Linked DNA regions of Homo sapiens: all the other regions are linked to region 2. Evidence: promoter capture Hi-C in 16 types of primary human blood cells and fetal thymus (Javierre and others, 2016). All regions are on one chromosome and are shown on one strand. Each heading gives the region's core, a stretch centred on a gene start or on the middle of the fragment in contact. The rest is flanking DNA. Distances are from core to core; before and after follow the strand shown. Region 1 holds the start of SPRR3 (small proline rich protein 3). Region 2 holds the start of LCE1D (late cornified envelope 1D). Region 3 holds the start of LCE3A (late cornified envelope 3A).

Evidence for each region. The method cuts DNA at HindIII sites, captures the fragments that hold promoters and counts their contacts. A CHiCAGO score of 5 or more calls a contact.
Region 1: a contact is called between the fragment with the promoter of SPRR3 here and the fragment with the promoter of LCE1D in region 2, in 4 of 17 cell types (erythroblasts, total CD4 T cells, M1 macrophages and 1 more). The highest score is 10.9, in erythroblasts.
Region 3: a contact is called between the fragment with the promoter of LCE3A here and the fragment with the promoter of LCE1D in region 2, in 6 of 17 cell types (M2 macrophages, total CD4 T cells, fetal thymus and 3 more). The highest score is 12.7, in M2 macrophages.

What each region holds. Positions count from the first base shown.
Region 1 is chr1:153,000,320-153,003,019 of GRCh38, reverse strand. It overlaps SPRR3 (small proline rich protein 3), which reads right to left and starts at 1,271. Exons shown (of 2, transcript NM_001097589.2): 1 at 1,227-1,271; 2 at 1-18. The HindIII fragment of the contact is 2,627 bases long and covers 325-2,700 here.
Region 2 is chr1:152,795,306-152,798,005 of GRCh38, reverse strand. It overlaps LCE1D (late cornified envelope 1D), which reads right to left and starts at 1,285. Exons shown (of 2, transcript NM_178352.3): 1 at 1,235-1,285; 2 at 1-233. The coding sequence starts at 211. The HindIII fragment of the contact is 8,213 bases long and covers 1-2,700 here.
Region 3 is chr1:152,621,709-152,624,408 of GRCh38, reverse strand. LCE3A (late cornified envelope 3A) reads left to right here and starts at 1,306. Exons shown (of 1, transcript NM_178431.1): 1 at 1,306-1,575. The coding sequence starts at 1,306. The coding sequence ends at 1,575. The HindIII fragment of the contact is 6,916 bases long and covers 1-2,700 here.

The DNA.
Region 1 (2,700 bases), core at 22-2,521, 210 kb before region 2:
CTTCAAAGGATGCTGGACCTAGAGACAAAACAGCTAATTCAGTGCTTTGATTAAGTAGGAATGAAGCCCAGTTTAATGACAAATATCTGTCATTTCATTCTCCTTCAGAACTGAGAGCCTCTCTTTTCTTTCTTTTTCCCTGAATTTGAGATCATGGGATGCTTTGGTGATCCCCACTTATCTTCCAGAGAATAAGGTAAAGTTGATTTCTTCCACATCGTGTAAATGGAGCCTTTCTTTATGCTTCTTTTCTTCCTGGTACATCTAAAAACCTACGTACAACATGAAAACACATACAAATATGCAAATATATACTCTGAAGCTTTCGCTTACACACTCTTTGAAGAATCCTCTAAGCTCCTGAATTAAGCAGAAAGTCTTAGTGGCTTTTCTGGTCTTCAGCTGCTCAGGGATCATCTGAGGAATTGAGTGAAAAGAAATGCATGTTTCTTGCTCTTCCCTGATTAAATCACTTTTAATACCACTCTTGGCTGTGTGTCATTGGCTGAAGATTGATGTGACACCTCAGTTTTTCCATAAGTTGGAAAGATTTTAAGGTCAGCAGTCTAGAATCTACTCACTCATGTCCTCCTTATAGAGTGCGATAGTTCTCCCAGGAGAACTCTTATCTAAACTTCCCCCTAAGGCTCCCACAATCCACCTGGGAGCCTCTGTTCACACTGTGCCTGCTGCACATGCTCTCTGGCAGGCTCTCCACATCATCGCTGCCTCCCCACACATGCCCACCTCTCATGGCTGTCCTTCCTGATGCTCTCACCTTCCTCGTTTTGCCACAGCATGATACTTGCTTTCCCTCTCTGCTAATCACTCCCCATGCTGTATGTTTGCAAATTTTAGTCAAGTATATGTTTTCTAATGGATTATACATTCATGCAATAAAGAAAAACTTATCTTTTGATCATCAAAATTGCCAATGTAGTGCCTTCTATATTAAAAATTTTCAATACATGTTGACAGGAGAGTGCTCTTGAAGTGGGTATATTGTCTTGCTAACTTAGCAAGCCTTTACAGAAATCACTCCCCTTTTCTGATCCTAAGTTCCACACCTGTAATCTGAGTGGAAAGTCAAAATATGTATAAGGTCACCTTAAACAAAAGTCGTTATTGCATTTAAAATAAATATATTCATTGCATAGCAAAGAGATCTCAATCAAAATAAAGAAACTATTGGAGAATATTAAGGTGTTCCTAATGCGGAGACTCACCTGCTGTGCAGAGAAGGTCGAGGTGTTCAGCCTCTGGGATCTGGTGAAGAGTCTCTTGTTAGCTGGTATTTATATAGAAAATGAGCCCTGCCTTAAGAAAATTGGATTTTTTAAAAGACTGCTCTAACTTCATTCCAGCTTTTGTGATAAGTATCTCTGGCTTAACATTTTTTGTCACTTAAGCTCTGACAGTGATGTCACCTGGGCCTGACTCACTGTCCACCCTTTGTGGTGTGGTTGCTGTGGGCAAAGGTCTTCTTGAATGGCAATGGATTAAATTAGGAGGAAGTACCATGCTCCTAGGACTAGAACGAGCCAGGCCTCTTGGCCTGGGCCCTAATCTTTAGCCAGATTAGTCCTATTGGGCTTCCTCATGGTTGAAGTGGACATGGAAATAACAATAGGCATTTCTGGTTCTGCGAGGCCATGGGGATGGTGCAGAATAAGTGAATCATCTGATTTTCAGTCTCTTACTGGATTTGGACCTGGGAGGAGCAATGGAAGGCAAAATGCCTGCTTTGGAAATAAGTTGCTTTCACTGTGAAGGGCGCCTTAAGGTGCCGTGTTGATCAGGGATAGTAGATGTCATTGAGATGGACAGGCAGGATTGACTGGATCTGTGTGACATTGTGGCTCAGCCCTGAAGACCCTGCCTCTTGTGGTATCTTTCTTCTCCAGGAGTGACATAGGAAGAGGAGCGTGCTGATTCCCTAGGTTCATACACCAGCCATTTCCTCTGATCACTACAGGATGAACCTCAAGTCACTAACTCAGAGTTGCCCTCAATACACACTCTCTTACTAGACGCGGCCCTTGGAAAATCCAGACATCCTTACATCTCAGGCATGTGAATAGCTCCTCCTTTCCCAATGTTCCACGACTGTGTTACTCCCTTGAACCTGATGCCCAGCTCCTTCCACCAGGTTCTGAAAGCCCCTTGTTCTACTTCAGCGTCACACAGTGCCTGGTTATCATGGGTGTTAAGTCAATGGACAGTCATTGTTCTCCTGAATAGAGCTGTAGGTTCATGGAAGGGAGAAAGGAAGTGAGAAAGAAACAGAGATAGATAAAGAAGAAAGGAAAGAAAGAAAGAAAGAGAGAGAGAGAGAAGGAAAGAAAGAAAGAAAGGAAGGAAGAAAGGAAGGGGAGGGGAAGGAAAGGAAAAGAAAAGAAAAGAGAAAAGAAAAGAGGAAAGATAGGGAGGGAGGGAGGAAGGCAGGAAGCCACAAGGCAGTTTCTTGGGCATGATTCACTGTCCTGTGCCAGGCCTCCTGGTGTGAGCTGAGAAGAGGTGTGAGCTGATAATTCATGAAGGAGAAGAGGCTTACCCTCCCTTCCACACCCATGTCCTTCCCTCTCTGCTAGCATTTGTTTGACCGGCCACTTCCCTCTGGGATGGGCCAGGGCCACTGCCATGCCTAAACTCTGGGCTCTGTCATCACATTAGCTCTTTTTCAGTGTTGGGTCCAGGTTT
Region 2 (2,700 bases), core at 36-2,535:
AGCCACCACCCCCAGAGCTGCAGCAGCCCCCAGAGTTGGAGCCACAGCCGCCCCCAGAGCTGGAGCCACAGCAGCCTCCGGAGCTGACACTGCAGCAGGAAGAGACTGGAGGGCACTTAGGGGGACATTTAGGGGCGGGGCACTTGGGAGTGCACTTGGGAGTGCACTTGGGAGGGGGCTGGCACTGCTGCTGGCTCTGCTGGCAGGACATCTCGGTGGTGGGTGTTCAGGAGCTGAGGGAGAGTCAAATAACAAGTCAGACCCAGGCAGAGGCCACCTCTGCCCCTGTGACACTCTTAGCACCTCTCAAGTTTAAAAGCATCATCTTCAGTAGTTTTATTTCCAATAATTTCCTCAAAATCTCACATCATCTTTTTCAAGATATCTTTGGATGTCAGACAACTGTAAACTAAGACTAAACAATATTGCAAAATGCATCTAAGATTCTGATGTGTTGTCAGTGGAGGAAGAAATTATTACAAATATATCTTAAGACTGAAATTGTCTAATTTATGAGTCATTTAAGAGAAAATTATTTTTAAAGGAGAAGAAGCAGTCATTCTCTCTGGTCATAATTTGCAAGACGATTTTACTTTGGAAGGTCAGCATTGTGCAGGATCTTGGAGACTACTAGGTCAGTAAACTCACTTCAATAGAGACAGATAAACTTAGCAGTTTCTGCAGACTAGTACTTGAACCCTGACCCCCTGATCTCAGGTTGGAGCTCAGACTTCCTCACTCACCACCTGCTCAGGCTGATGGGATGACACGGTGGGTCTCAGGCTTGGTGTGTCCTAACCAAGCTGGGAAGTTTGTGAACAAATCTCAGACCCATGAAAATGTGGGGTTCATAAACCCCAAAGAGTCTTTAGTCCCATGTCCACAGCTCCAGTTCTTCCCTTGCAGGCAGAGACAGGGTTGTATCTTCAGAGGTGGGCTTCCCTCCTGTGGGCTGCCAGAGTGGAGCAGGTCTCTGTGCTTCAAAGTTCCCACTCTGGAACACCCACCTCATCCCAGAGCAGTTTGTTTCCTCTAGAGTTCAAAGGCACATGGCACAGCCCGCCAGCTCTTTTCCTCTTTTCCTTCCTGCTCCCAGTTAGTGCCAGACCCCTTTTGGCCCCCGCCCCTTCAGTCTTTTCTAAACTCTCCACCTCTGACAACATGGCCCTAGCCCCGGAGGCCCTGCCCCTCCTTCCCTCCTGCTCTGTTCTGAGCATCCCTGCTCTGTTCTTACCGGAGTCACAGGCAGCACAGGGTTCTTTAGCACCTCAGGAGGTGAGTGGATGGGGTGGTCTGGCCCTGAGCCCTTTTATCCTGGCCTGGGCTCTGCCCCAGCTGTGAGACAGGGCCTGGGCATGAGAGGACCTTCCTTCTGACACCCACGTGGGTCTTGTGATGGTTGGTGACTGACAGCTCCTCACCTGCCTCTCTCCCCAGGCTCAAGGCAGCCACTCCCAGGTAGGAAAGTGCCTACTTGAAACGGGGTTCCAGGATGACTCCTACCATCACCTACCTCATTCACTTGAAGGCTGCTTGCCCTGAGAGCCTCTCAGTTCTCAGTCTTAGAACTTAGGACCTATCTCATTTCTGTCTCTTCCGAAGTACCTGATGCTCCGTGCAGCCTGGGTTGAAGTTGAAGTACTAATCCCTGAGGTTTCCATGCATGTTTATTTCTGTCCCTGTGCACCACCAAACTGTGTGGCTGTGGGTGCAGTGTAGACATCTACACAAGTAAAACCCTGGAAGTATAACCCGGCCCAGGACCAGGCCCTGCGAGATGGGACTGTTGAAACTATTTAGCCTGTACCATTTTTTAAACCATAAAGCTGGAAGATGAAAAAGAATTAGTTACAGAAGAATTAGTTGGTTGTGAAAGTCAATAAAGTAACACAAAAAAGAGAAAATGTGCCTGACAGAGAGACTGAAACATTGTAGGCTCTGAATAAGTGAAACATTCATAACTTGCTGAATACAGAATGAAGATACTGATCTTTGTTTAACAAACGAAGCACAGCTTTTTTCTAATGAGAGTGAGTCTGGCTGTTTGGTGATCTGTTTGCTTTTAAATAGCCCTTTTCTTCTGGTGGGGTCCTTGATGTGTCAGCACTGAGATGTGAACAAGGAAGCAGCTCATTAGAGAAACAAGAAGCAGCAGCTCTGCTCTTTGTATTGGTGTGAGAATTTGGACTTTTCTGGGTTCACACTGGGAGCACCGGATGATGGTCACAGATGAGAAACAGGAAGAAAAGAGACATGGTTGTGAGACATTATAAGTCTACGCTTCCATGTGGGGTCAAATGGCTGGCAGAACCCCGTCCTGGACCATAAGGGGACGGGTGCCTTTTAAGAACAAGAGTCCTTAATATTTAATGTGAATGTGTTTATGCTGCTACTTTGGAAGCCCCTCTCCTCTCTCTCCACTAGAATCACTAGCTTTCTACATGTCCACAGGATTTATATGAATGGAGTGTTCTGAATTTATACATTTTTAGGATATTAATGAAATGGGCTGCTGTTCATTCTAGGACACACTAGTCACTAAGACAGCCATGACTGCAAGGTTATCCACAAATTAAACTATTTCTTCAGAGGAAGACCAAGAAAAGCCAGATTAAACCATATGAGGGACAAGTCCTCTTCTTCCCAGCCCCTGACAGACTCTGGATATGCCCAGAACTTGGGAATGATATCTAGGTCAAA
Region 3 (2,700 bases), core at 57-2,556, 170 kb after region 2:
TGATATTCCCTGAAGACACTACCTCTCAAGCCATGGCCCCAGCTCCATTCTTCCACCCCTTACTCAACCCAGGTCCAGTGAGCTCAGTGCAGCCAACATCTCAGGACACAGGGGCTGATTCCATCACCTATGTAAAGGAATCCACAAAGCAATGGGGACTGACACCCAAAGGCAGTGACCCCAGCCTGCCATGTTTGTGCACACTTGTGCTGCGTCGCTTAGCACATAGGATGTGATTTAATTGCTCAGTTGTCCATCTGGCCTTCTGAAAAGCTGTGAGCTAGTCAAGGGGAGAAATGTGTTCTGTTTGTCCCCATATTACCAGGCCCCACAAAGGACGTACCCTGGCTTCAGAGCATGTGAGCTGAATGAAGAAAAAAAAGTGGAACAGCAGCCAGAGGGCCTGAACGGTGGATAATTGGACCGTCATCGAGATTTCCTGCTTCCCTTTTGTCATTCCTCAAAATATGCGCCTTAAGAATATGCTGAAAGCCTGGTCCTTGGGAGTGTGTGGTGCTTCCCCTCCCTTTGGGGAGCAAAGGAGGACACATAGTTGGGCTGTGCATCATAATACCCAGGATAAAAGGGCTGAGGCCCTGGGTTCCTCAGTCCACAATCACCTCAGGAAGAACCTTCTCCTGCCTCCACCAAACCAGGTGAGCGTCCAGCTGGCGAGAGGACCTGGGCTGAAAGGGCTGCGCAAACACGTCTGTGCTTCAACAAGGAGAGGGGAGGAGGCAGACACGGTGGAGGCGGCAGAGAGGCTGTGGTGGGTGGCCGGCTGGGACTGGGATGGGAGATGGGCGGGATAGTGAGGAAGACAGACAAGTCTGCGAGCCACTTCAGGGGCTCCGCGATGCTGCGACCTCTGAACCCCCTTTTCCTCATGTGCGCAGAGATGCGTTGCCTCCTCACACCCTGCGCTCACAGGCGTCCAGAGAGACGCCACCCTGGAGGGTCATGGGCGTTGTGTTCACGGGACGCCTGCAGGGGGAGCTGTTCGCATCGGGTCCGGAGGTGTGACAGGCCCCGCAGGGCGTGCGCAGGAGCCCCAGAGGCCCACCCAGGAGTGTCAGCTGCCTCCCAGGCAGGGGAGAGGGCCGGAGGAAGGGGCAGTATCAGGCCGGTTTAACTTCAGATCCGTTTGCATTCCCCTTCCCCAGGTCTTAGCTGGAGGGCAGACTGAGTTTAGGGGAAGGGATCCACAATTAAACCAAAGCATGAGGAGGCCCTGGCCTGAAACCTGCATTGACACGTATTTTGCTTTGCTTTTATTTTGCCCAGGCTCCCTGACCTCCTGCCTAGATGTCCTGCCAGCAGAACCAGCAGCAGTGCCAGCCTCCGCCCAAGTGCCCTGCAAAGAGCCCAGCACAGTGTCTGCCTCCAGCTTCCTCCAGCTGTGCCCCAAGCTCTGGGGGCTGTGGGCCCAGCTCCGAGCGCAGCTGCTGCCTGAGTCACCACAGATGCCGCAGGTCTCACCGTTGCCGTTGCCAGAGCTCCAACTCCTGTGACAGGGGAAGTGGTCAGCAAGGCGGGAGCTCCAGCTGTGGCCACAGTTCTGCGGGCTGCTGCTGACCTGAGCCACGAGATTAAGTAAAAATATTTGAGAAAAGAAAGTGCCAAAATGACTGGAACCAGCCCTAGCCTGGTGCTTCTTTGCTCCTGTCTCCTCTTTCCTACTGAGATGTTCCTTGATGAGTTTCAAGTACTCCCCCAGGGGATTTATCCTGCTGGTCTTAGTGTTTTCCCTCCTTCTTTAATATCCCTGTGCTGTGAAGAATAAAGCTGTGCTTTCTCGTTGCAAGCTCTGTCCAGTGCGTTCCCGTCTTTGCCTTACAGGGGCTGCCCCACATTGGGTACATAGGCCTATCTTAGGAACAGACACAAGTGGGTCATACACCCCTCAACTCACAAAACCCTTTTAGGGGGGTTGTATATTAGTGTGGGAATGAGGTGAGCAGTCTTTCACAAGGTCAAGGACAGAAGCATGAGTTGGAAATAAACACAGAGCTCTGGAAAACAAAGGGAATGAGCTTACTGGGCCCGTTCAGATCCTTCCGAAAACACTTTGGTAGCTCAGCCCTAGATGGCAGAGAAGAAGAGAAGCTCCAGATGGGAGCAGGTCCTTGGTCCTCTGGTTCCTCCAACTCTGATACTCTGTAGTCTTCATGACCCAGGACCACAGCAGCCCCCAGAGCTGTGGCAGCAACTGGAGCCTCCAGAATGCTCTGTTGGGCATGTCAGTGGGATCTGTGGGCCCATGGTGACTCCGGTAGCAGCTTCCTGCAGAGCTGGAACCACAACAGAAATAGACTGGCAGCAAACAACCAAAAGGATACTTGAGGGTTAGGCACTTGGGAGGGGGCTGACAGTGCTGTTAGTTTTTCCTTTCAGGACATCTCAGCTCAGTGATCCCTGGAAGAAATGAAAAAGTAAATCATTGTTTTCTATCTATCTATCTATCTATCTATCTATCTATCTATCTATCTATCTATCTATCTCTATCTACCTATCTGTCTCCCCTTGTCCCTCACCGTCTTTCTCAGACCCTGACCCTATGACCCTAAGCTCACGTTTTTGCTAACCTAAGGGCAGCAGGGAAACAGGGCCTTGGGCAGGGATGAATTGGCTCAGAATGTTTGCTGATCAAGGTATTTTCTCCTCCTACTTTGATTTAGAATCAGAAAAAAAGGAGATGGG